Linked DNA regions of Homo sapiens: region 2 is linked to region 1. Evidence: promoter capture Hi-C in human tissues and cell types (Jung and others, 2019). All regions are on one chromosome and are shown on one strand. The core of a region is centred on a gene start or on the middle of the fragment in contact, and the rest is flanking DNA. Distances in the headings are between cores, read along the strand shown.

Region 1 (5,611 bases), core at 322-2,821:
TCAAATGCCCTTTCTCAGGCCACACTGACCAGTGCCTCCCCAAGCAGAGAGTGAGCTCCCGGGAGTCAGGGCTGCACCTGGCCCAGGGCTGGCACAAAGAGTGTACCTGGTCCAGGGCTGGCACACCACAGGTGTGATGGATGACAGACTGAAGGATGAGGGGTGAGTGAGGCAGCAGCCTTGACCTCTGTTGGAGCTGGGGACTCCAGGAATCAGGCCCTCACCCCCTCCCTGTCTCTGCCCTATCCTGTGTGCTGTTCAGGGCCAGGTTGTGGGAGGGGAAGAACCTGCGGCCAAGGGGACAGAATGGGGAAAAGGGAAGCCATATACCACAGGCATCTGAGCCTGCGTGCCCTGATGTCCACTTGGGGTCCTGGCCTCTGCCGACCCTGGGTCCCCTTGAAAAGTTTGTGGACTTGGGGTTGGGACCCTCTTGGCTGTTGCGGTCGCGTATTAACCAGCATGGCCATTGTGGAGCTCACCAAGCTGATGTCCCTCAATGCCACAATCAATCATTAAACCCAGGGCACACTCCTGCTCCTGTGTCTCTCCCAGAAAAGTGTACTCCGGAGGCGAATACTCTGCCCATACCTCCATATTTTGTGTATCACATCAAGATTCCAGAAGGAAGGCTGCTGAGATTTGAGGGGAGGCTTCAGCTTCTGAAACCCCACCCTGTCACAAAGCAGAGCTGGTGCCTGGGGCCCTGGACAGCGGCCGGGGCTCTCAGGAGTGTGTGCTGGGACCAGAGGCTTCCCTGTAGTTCCGTCCTGCACATGCTCCAGAAACAGCTCAAGGAGACTGGGGGGATCGGGGCACCTGTGCTGCTCCCAGCCCTATCAGAGTCAGGCCTCATGAGTGCCCGACACCGCCTGGAGGAGGCAGTGGGCTGGCAGGAGGTTCGTGCGCACAGGGCCACAAGGTGGGTAAGCGCTCACCCAGGAACGGGGGCTGCCAGCTTCAAACAGAGGGAGGCCAGGGAGGCCTTGAAGGATGGATCCAGGGCCATCCCCACCTGGGCCTCTCCCTTACCTATGCGCTCCCCGATGTCCACGGCTCGCTGCCCCCAAATGCCATTGGCCCCAACCAGGAAGGAGTCCCCAGGCTCCAGCACATTGACCAGGGCGGCCTCCAGGGCACAGTGTCCCGAGCCAGAGATGACCAGTGTGAGTGGGTTCCTGGTCTGGAACACGTACTGGATGCCTTCCTTGATCTCGTCCATGATCTGCATGCGGGTGGTATAGGGTGAGACCCAGGCTCCCCGCCTCCCCAAGTGAGGAGGCAGTGACCCCCTTCCCTCGTCCACGATCTGTGGGTGGGAACATGGGTGAGACCCAGGCCCCCCGAGTGACCCCCACTCCTACCTGGTACATATCCTTGCTCATGGACCCGATCATCTGCAGCCCCCCGGCTGCCATGATGCGAGGAGGCAGGTTGGAAGGACCAGGCCCCAGCAGGAGCTGGTTGGGGATGGAGAGGGGCTTGAGCAGGGCCTTGGGGGGGGTCACCAGCAGCTTGTGAGAGGCCATGGTCCGCACCCAACCTGCCGCTCGGGAACCTGGGGCTGCACTGGCCTTGGCCAAAGCCTGGAATATTTCCCAGCAGGGCGGACACAGAGGTGAGAGGTGAGGATTGGTGGATGGGCTTCCGTGGCAGCCCTGCCTTTTGTTCCCTGAGGCTTATCTGTGCTTGTGCTGCGGGTCACGGCCAGGCAGCAGGGGACGAAGCCCTCAGGCAGAGGGAGCCCCCAGGGCTGAGTGACAGAAAAACAGAGTGTGACAAAGCTGTCCTCACCCCAGCCCTCCTCGCTCCCACTCTGAGTCCTGCACGTCCAGCCCCTCTTATTCTGCTTAGCTCAGGGGTGAGAGAAGTGTTTCTTAAAGGGTCGGAGCACAGATAATTGAGGCTTGGCAGGCCCTGTGGTCTATGTTGCAACAACTCAACCCTGCTGCGTGCTTGCAAAGCAGCTGCCAGAGGTGTGGGCGTGTTCCTATAAAACTTTATTTACAAAAAGCAGGTGGCAGGCCAGATTGGGCCCATGGACTGTGGTTTGCTGACCCTGGCGCAGCTGATGGGAAGGCTTGTAAACCAAAAATAAAATTCGAAGGCCCCCCAGCAACCATCTGAATGGGGTTCCCTGTCCGCCAGGGTGCTCTAAACTTTAACCCGGAAGACGTTCAGGCCATGCCACATCATAACCCCCAGCATTAACATCGACATAGACCTTAAGTCTGATAGGAAGCATTTACCATCTATTTTCTCTCTAAATCCCGCTACCTGAAGGCATCATCTGCTCCCTGCAACCCCTATTTCATAACCCAGACACTCCTTTCTGCTGATAATAATTCTTCAGTCAGTTGCCAATCAAAATATGTTTAAATCTACCTATGACCTGGAAGCCCCCCAATTCAAGTTGTCCCGCCCTTCCAGATGGAACCAATGTAAATCTCCCATGTATTGATTGATGCCTCATATCTCCCTAAAATGTATAAAAGCAAGCTGTGCCCCGACCACCTTGGGCCCTTGTGGTCAGGGGTGCACCCTTGAGCTTGGCAAGGATGTCCTCCCTCCTGAGGCTGTACCACGGGTGCATCCTTAGCCTTGGCAACAAAAACTTTCTAAATTAATTGAGACCTGTTTGAGGTACTTTTTGGTTTACAGGCTCAATTTAGCAAGCAAACCTGCATGGTATACAGACACACACAAGGCAGGGGTTGCACAGTGAGTTTCAGCATGCTGCATTCCAGAGATGTATAGAAATTCTAGTTATGTATAAGTTTTAGGTTGAAAAGAGGCCTGGAACCAGGTGCCAACTTTAGATAATAGGGAAGTCTAATTCATTCTACATTTCTCAAATAAAGAGGCTCCCCTCCACCCACCCCACCTGGGGCCTGCTTGATGGTCTCCAGGTGATCTTTGCTGTCCTCATTTTCCCTCTGACAAATATCTTGGTGAAATCTTTGACCCTTCCTTTTCTGCCATGCTCATGTCCACCTGCTTCCTGTTGGGGTCTCAAGAAAGGGGAAACGGCACAGTGAAGAGGGGTGTCCAGTGCGCCTGACTACTTGCTGCTGAAAGGGAGTTCAGGGGGGTAGGTCACGTTTTTCCCTTTCTTGCTCTCGGTCATGAAGGGAATAAAGGGTCATGAAAACTTGTGCACGGAGGCACGTGATGGGATTCCATCAAGAAGCCCCACGTAAATGGGAGCTGCAGTTGCAGGCCGGTATTTCCATCAAGAAGCCCCATGTAAATCGAGCTGCAGTTGCAGGCCAGTGTTGGGAATGCATAGCCTTCTGCAGGTGGAATTGTTCTCATGTAGAACATAGAAAAGCAATCAGAGCATTAAAAAGGCAGGGACCAAATATTAAAAGAAAAATGACAGAAGATAAAGGTCTAAGGAATGGGGGAAGCCAAGTGATTTTTTGAAAACCAATCAGTAAAAGTTTTGGCCCAGTCTTGGTTGCTTTGGGAAAGTGTGTGTAGCCATTTGGCTTGTTTGATGATTTCTTGGGCATCGGTTTCCACTTCTCCAGACACATAAATGTAGGTGCAACGGGTCCTGTTGATGACAGCACAGACCCCTCCTTGTTCAGCTAGGAGGTAATCCAGAACTCACCTGTTACCAGACACCAAAATCCTGCTTGTGAGTCTAATGACTTGTAGAGCTGATAGATGGGTGCCAGCTTTTGCTATTTCAAGGGAGGCGGTAGGTTCTCTTACTTGTGATTTCCTGGTAAGTAAAACCTCCCCAAGGGGTAAGAGTTGTGATAGTTCCCACAACTCCGGCCACAGTAAGTCCCAGGGCCCTTTTCCTTCTAGAAGGGAATTCTGAATTAGAAGTGATGTTTAAGACAGTGATTTGGGTGGGAGCTATTGTTCCCAGGCTACAATCACCATAGTGAAGAGAATGATCAAGGTGGGATAGGGCCAAAGCTTGAAAAGGGTTTAAATAGTTTTTAGTGGGGCTGCTAAGCCATAAGAGCCCAGGAGGGGCAGGATGATTATTTTAATTAAAATGTTGGGAAAAAAGGAAATGGGCCTTTTGACAGTTTTAAGAGGACTCATATGGGGGAAAGACTATGTTTATGTACTGATGGAGGAGGTTTAAAAGCAGGCGGGTGCCAGTGCATGGCATAGGATGTAAACCAGGTGGCACGGTGGTTATTTCCTGCACTGGTTGCATCATTATAGTAACATACATGAAGGTATTAGGAGTGCAGGGGTGCTGTATACTGGGAGCCCCACTATACTGGTCCAGTTTAACGGCTTATAAATTGGCAGTGATGAGATAGAGTCAGATTTTTTTTTTTTTTTTTTTTGAGATGGAGTCTCACTCAGTTGCCCAGGCTGGAGTGAAGTGGTGTGACCTTGGCTCACTGCAACCTCTGCTCCTGGGTTCAAGCGATTCTCCTGCCTCAGCCTCCTGAGTAGCTGGGATTACAGGCACCTGCCACCACGCCCTGCTAATTTTTGTATTTTTAGTAGAGACAGGGTTTCACCATGTTGGTCAGACTGGTCTCGAACTCCTGACCTCAGGTGATCCACCCACCTCTACCTCCCAAAGTGTTAGGATTACAGGTGTGAGCCAGCGCACCTGGCCAGAGTCAGAGTTTTGATTGTAGGAGGCGAAGGCCTCAAATGAGTCAAAGTTAGCTGCATGAGTGTCATTATAACAAGGTGTACCTCCCAAAATAACATTACAAGTTAAGGAAGTTTCAGTGATATTGTAAGTGTGGATGGTGGGGGAAGTAATATGATAGCACGAAGAGGGAGGTGGTTTCCAATTTACCAGCACAGAAGGAAATGGTCGGGGTGGGAAGGAGTGGTGAGAAGAATAATGAAATCCCAACAGTACAGTTTGATTGGAGACAGGGTGTGCTTACGAAGAAGAATCTACATGGCTTGGAGTAGCAGGTTGTGGACGGCAAAGCCAGCCACACAGAGTATTTTCTCCTCTCACAATAGCATGTGAGATGCTGAAGATGATATTGTCAAACCAAGAGGATTGGGAAGTTTTTATATGAGAGATAAAGAGAAAAACATGAAAGAAAGAAAAAAGGAGTCTCATTGTTCTAATTCAAGGACTGTTACAAAAGTTGCTCCAAGTATAATTAGAAAAACCACCCTGCAAATAAAAATCTAGTGCAAGCTGAATAATTGTATGTGGGTCTTGAGAAATGGGGATTGGATAAAGAGACAGTAAATTGGCTGGGTGTGGTGGCTCATGCCTGTAATTCCAGCACTTTGGGAGGCTGAGACGGGCGGATCACCTGAGGTCAGAAGTGTGAGAACAGCCTGGCCAACATGGTGAAACCCTGTCTCTACTAAAAATACAAAAAAAAAAAAAAAAAAAAAAAAATAGCCGGGCATGGTGGTGCATGCCTGTAATCCCAGCTACTCAGGAGGTTGAGGCGGGAGAATCACTTGAACCCGGGAGATGGCGGTTGCAGTGAGCCGAGATCGCACCATTGCACTATAGCCTGGGTGACAAGAGCAAAACTCTGTCTCAAAAAAAAAAAAAAAAAAAAAGTAAGTGAATTGAGGATAATCTCAGAAAATTGGAGGACCTAAAAACGCTTCTAGAGTACATAAGGAAATGAATGACAAGGGA
Region 2 (5,611 bases), core at 1,673-4,172, 1.0 Mb before region 1:
CACTCACCAAGAGCCCTGAAAATCAAGGGTCTGAGCCCAGGGGAGCAGACCCAGCTCATGACAACAAATGTACAAGGCCAAACGGAAGGCACCTGCTGCTTCTTGCCTCCCAGCCTGACAGACAGTTACACGTGGTGGGGCCAGTGAGAGGGAGGATGGGAGGAAAGAGGCAGGGAGTGAGGGGTAGTGAAGGGAAGGGAGGGAGGAAGCAGGTTGGCAGGGGAGGGGGAGCCAGTGAGAGGGAGGACGGGAGGAAGCAGGTGGGGGGGCAGCAAGAGGGAGAATGGGAGGAAGCAGGTGGGGGGTGCCAGTGAGAGGGAGGACGGGAGGAAGCAGGTGGGGGGGCAGCAAGAGGGAGAATGGGAGGAAGCAGGTGGGGGTGCCAGTGAGAGGGAGGATGGGAGGAAGCAGGTGGGGGGGCAGCAAGAGGGAGAATGGGAGGAAGCAGGTGGGGGGTGCCAGTGAGAGGGAGGACGGGAGGAAGCAGGTGGGGGGGCAGCAAGAGGGAGAATGGGAGGAAGCAGGTGGGGGTGCCAGTGAGAGGGAGGATGGGAGGAAGCAGGCGGCGGGGGGGGCAGTGAGGGGGAGGGAGGGAGGAAGTCCACCCCACCCTCCAGCCTGACCTGAGCTGTGGCTGCCTCTGAGAGGGCAGAAGGGCCGGCCTGCAGGCGATACGCCCCCTGACACCCACTGAGTGAGACCGAGGGCACCCCCACCTGAATCCCCTCTATGAAGCTTAATGAGCTTAAAGGAGCATCGGAGCTGGGGGAATGGTGGCCCCAAAAGACATGTCCCCCGAGAACCTGCGAGTGGGACCTCATGGAGAAAGGGTCTTTACTGATGTAATTAAGTTTAGGTTCTCCAGATAGAATCATGGTGGATTAGAGCGGTCCCTGCATCCAATGACAGGTGCCGTTATAAAGCAGAGAACACAGGGAGACGGATGCCGCGTGAAGAAGAACGGAGCCAGAGTGACGCATCCACAAGCAGAGGAGCACGAAGATGCAGCGAGCCCCAGCATGGCGGAGAGAGGCAGGAAACGCATCCCCCTCAGAGCCACCCCCAGTCTCCCCTCAGAGCCCCCACAGCCCCCTCAGAGCCACTGCATCCCCCTCAGAGCCTCCGGAGGGAACCGACCCCATCACCACTTTGTTTCAGACTTCAGGTCTCCAGAACCGTGAGACAGTATCCGCTGTTTTGAGCCATCCGGTTTGTGGTACCTTGTTAACCTTCTTCTACAACCCTAAAAAGCAAATACCAGCATGCACTATTTTAGATTTTAAAACCAGGATTATAAAAGAACCACAGAAACACAGGGAAAGGCGCGATTATCCAGTTTTCTCGGGCAGTCGCTCTGAAGAGGAAATGTTGGAGAGGAATTTGCACAACAGAAGTGGGTTACTGAAGGGCATTGAGGCAGCCTCCTTGGGGGGCGCGGGTGGTCTGGTGGGTGGGGGTGAGGGGCAAATGGCAGAGAGAGAGAGAGAGAGAGAGGTGGGCCCTGCCTGCATCCTTCACTTCAGGGGTTTGCCTTGGCCAAACAGCTAGTTCTAGCCAAGAAACTTGGGCAGGGGTGATGCAGTCCACTCCTGGCCCTGGCTCATAAGACCCTCGCAACAGCCTCCTCACTTTCCTCCCCGGCCGTGTACTGAACGGAGAGGACGCCAAACCAGAGGACGGCAGCGCCACAGGTGGAAGGGGCTGCTGGATCCCTGAGTGACAGTGTGGAGCCGAGCTCCCTGAGGACTTGCATCACAGCACAGCAGTGCTAAGATATGAGGTGTGCCTCACGGATGCACCTGCTGTGTGCATGGGCCTGGACAGCATCCTACAGAGATCATGAAGCCTCAAAAATGTCCTCACTGGGGCCACAAAGAGATCAACACTGGGCCTCAGGAAGAGCGGTGGTGCAGGTGCGGGGGATGCGTTGCTGTGGGCACAGATCTGCCGCACCGGGAAGGGCAGGGAGGCCACTGAAGCAGCCCAGGCAGGTCTGGATCCCGAGAAGCAGCCTCCTGTCAGGGGCTGTGGAGACCGGAGGAGGCTCCCTGATGCCTCCTCTTCGAAAGACGCTCTGCACCCATGTATTTGTGCTCAATAAGACCCATTTGTTGCACGCAAGCTGGCACAGCTCATAATTCAGGGGCAAAGGAATTGGAAGGACATTTCAGAAAATCTGTAAACAAAAGCAATTATTCTTTTGTGCAGTGGAAAGAAAACACAACCAGCCATTTTTCCTCATTCTCTGCAGTGTCCGTGAGTGTGGCAGCCAAGCCTCAAATGTACTTGCTTCTCAGATTCAGCTCAACCCCCTCCATCAACACAACCACCACAAAACTTGGTATTTTTCTCCTACAAACTTTGCCCAATTTTCCCTTTTCCATCTGAAAAACAAGACTCCAGGCCACGTTCACTATGAGATTACTTAATGACTCTCTGTTGGCCCCGAGGTCTGCCACCTGCCCCCACCGCACTCCCCAAGGAGGAGGCCTGACAAACTCATTCATAGCGAGGCAGAGGACACGGTGATGCAGAAGAACATAAAAGCTGACGCTGGGGCTTTCCCAGGTCCCTGGAGACTGAGGCTACAGGGCGAATGTGCAGTGAAGGGCTCTGGGGTTCCAAAAGCTGTGGGGGGCTTCTGTGGCACAGCCCCTGTGGAGACTCAGGCACCTTCCTGGAGGCAGACCCAGAGCAAAGCTCTGCCTTAATCCTCCAAGATCTTTCTCAGGCCAACTCCAGTTCAACAAGGGACCTGACTTCTAGTTCACGGGGTTGTCCTGAGTGTTACAGAGAACGCGCATGTGAAAGAGAGGTGGAGTGCACACGTGCAAACAACATGCCCTGCACCCCGCAGCAGCCAGGTCTGTGCAGAGAAGCCTGGAGGACAACGTGGCTGGCATGGGCTGCTCCCAAGATGATAGACAGATGGACTGGAGCCAGGACCCTCACAGAGTATTTAGGGGGGTGGTGGCTGCACGGACAGCAGCTCTTCCAATACAACTCGGAGGCTTCATTTCTGCCTCACATGGGGTTTTGTTGCATCTCTCTGAAGGTCCTCTCGTTAAAGACCAGCACCCGCGTAACCCGTCCACAGCCTGCAGCCCTGCACAGAGGCTCAGACTCCTCGAAACCCCAGATGCTCCCCACCACCCGAGCTCCCACCTGCTGTAGGCAGTTAAACCACTCAAACTTCACTTACAGGATTATCCAGCTGAACACCCAGGCTGTACTGCTTAAGGGCTGCAGCCTTGAAAGACACACTCAAAATTACAGCCTCAGAAAGCACGCACTGCAGGGAAAGGCACTCAATAGAACATGCTGAGTGGTGCAATCCACCCTGGGGCCCCCAGAGGAGTCTGCATTTCTCTCCCCGTGAGCTCTTTAATGGTGCACACACAGCACCCAGCACGGAGGGGCTAATTGATTAGCTGTCTCTGCAGCACATGCTGCTGGCGCCATGGCTCACAGCAATTCCACGCTTACACTCACAGCCTGTTTCTCTGCTGTTGGAGCTCTGGTGGGCTGCAGGCTTCACTGCCACAACACACGGGACCCGGTGTCCACCTGCCACCTCCCCACCTGGGGCGCCTCTGGGCTGCTAGGCTGGTAAGAGGTCACCCCTGCCGTGACAGGGTAGCCAGTGCTGGACCTGCGTTCCTCCAGCAAATGGCTGTGAAACTGGACAAATACAGGGCCACTGTGATGGAGCCAACTGTGAGCCATGCTTCCCACCCTCCCCCTCCCACTCTGCCACCATAGGAGGCAGAGCTCGGGGAAACAAGGGCGCAGTGAGAGGAGGGCATAGCACCAGGGCTGGGGTTGGCCTGGGACAACAGAGAAGGAGCTGTGTGGATGCCGGACAGGGGAGATGGGGAGGAAAGTGACCATGGCTCACAGCGGCCTCAACCTCCTGGGCTCCAGGGATCCCCCTGCCTCAGCCTCCCGAGCAGCTGAAACTACAGGTGCACACCACCATGCTCGGCTAGTTTGCTTTCTTTTTAATAGACGAGGTATCACTGTGTTTCCGAAAGCAGTCTCGAACTCCTAAGTTCAAGCAATCCTCCTGCCTCTGCCTCCTAAAATTTGGGCATCACAAACATGAGCCACCACACCCAACTGACAGTTAATTTCTTAAAAAGTTAACTTTAATTTATTCAAAAGATTGTCTAAAGCAAAAGTAGCATTGTGTTACGGAGTTTGTAATGTAGGTAGAGGTTAAACATATGGCAACTGTAACAGGAAGAACAGGGTTAGAGGAATTACACCGTTACAAGTTTCCCACATTTTGTGTGAGGTGAATAGGCTGATAAATTAAGGATTCATTTTGTTGTCTTTAGGGTAACTACTAAAAATGGTAATACCAAGAGGCACAGCTAAAAGACCAACAGAGGTGTAAAACGAAGTACTAAAAAATTTCAATTAACCCAAAAAAGGCAGGAATGGAGGAACAAAGGAACAAAAAAATGACAAATAAAAAACAAATGACAAGATAAGACACTTAGAAAACAAGTAGCAAGATGGGGGATCTACAGCAACCTCATCAATCATTACTGGAATTGCAAATGGAGAAACTCCATGTGCAAAGCAGGGATTGTCACCAAGACCCAACTCCATCTACAGACACCCACGTAAGATACAAAGACAGGTTGGGTGTCTAAAGGATAGAAAAAGATCCACAGTGGTCCAGGAGTGGTCCCAGCATTGTGGTAGGCACAAGAGTGAGGATCACTTGAGTCTTAGAGTTTGACCTGTAATCCAAGCACTTTGGGAGGCTGAGGCAGGCAGATCACCTGAGGTCAAGAGTTCCAGACCAGCCTGGCCAACACGGTGAAACCCTGTCTCTACTAAAAATACGAAAAAAATTAGCCAGGCATGGTGGTTTGTGCCTGTAATCCCAGCTACTGGAGAGGCTGAGGCAGGAGAATTGCCTGAACCCAGGAGGCAGAGGTTGCAGCGAGCCAAGATCGCGCCACTGCACTCCAGCCTGGGCAACAAGAGTGAAACTCCATCTCAAAAAAAAAAAAAAGGAGTTTGAAAAATACAAAAAAAAAATTAGCCTGGTGTGGTGGTGCACACCTGTGGTCTCAGCTACTCTGGAGGCTGAGGTGGAAGGATCACTTGAGCCCAGGAGGTCGAGGCTGTGGTGAGCCAAGATGGCACCACTGCACTCCAGCCCGGGCAACAGAGTGAGACCCTGTCTCAAAAAAAAAAAAAAAAAGGAAAAAAGTGGCCAGGCACGGTGGCTCATGCCTGTAATCCCAGCACTTTGGGAGGCCAAGGTGGGCAGGATCACAACGTCAGGATATAAAGACCATCCTGGCTAACACGGTGAAACCCCGTCTCTACTAAAAAAAATACAAAAAAATTAGCCAGGCGTGGTGGCGGGTGCCTGTGGTCCCAGCTACTCGGGAGGCTAAGGCAGGAGAATGGCGTGAACCCGAGAGGTGGAGCTTGCAGCGAGCCAAGATCGCGCCACTGCACTCCAGCTTGGGCAATGGAGCAAGACTCTGTCTGAAAAAGAAAAAAAAAAGAAAAAAGAATAGAAAAAGGAAAAGATACACAGTGCCAATTCTGTGCATAAGAAAATAGCCCTGGAACACTCACATTA

What was found. Contacts are between HindIII fragments. The study calls those that stand out against the background at their distance.
Region 2: a contact is called between a fragment that was not itself captured here and the fragment with the promoter of AGXT in region 1, in 1 of the 25 tissues and cell types used here (lymphoblastoid cells).

What each region holds. Positions count from the first base shown.
Region 1 is chr2:240,864,784-240,870,394 of GRCh38, reverse strand. It overlaps AGXT (alanine--glyoxylate aminotransferase), which reads right to left and starts at 1,571. Exons shown (of 11, transcript NM_000030.3): 1 at 1,365-1,571; 2 at 1,033-1,225. The coding sequence starts at 1,529. RefSeq lists an enhancer at 1,552-2,052. The HindIII fragment of the contact is 24,692 bases long and covers 1-5,611 here.
Region 2 is chr2:241,883,376-241,888,986 of GRCh38, reverse strand. All of the region lies in intron 2 of LINC01237 (long intergenic non-protein coding RNA 1237), which reads right to left. Among named protein-coding and RNA genes, the nearest start is that of LINC01237, 4.8 kb to the right of the region's middle. The HindIII fragment of the contact is 9,878 bases long and covers 1-5,611 here.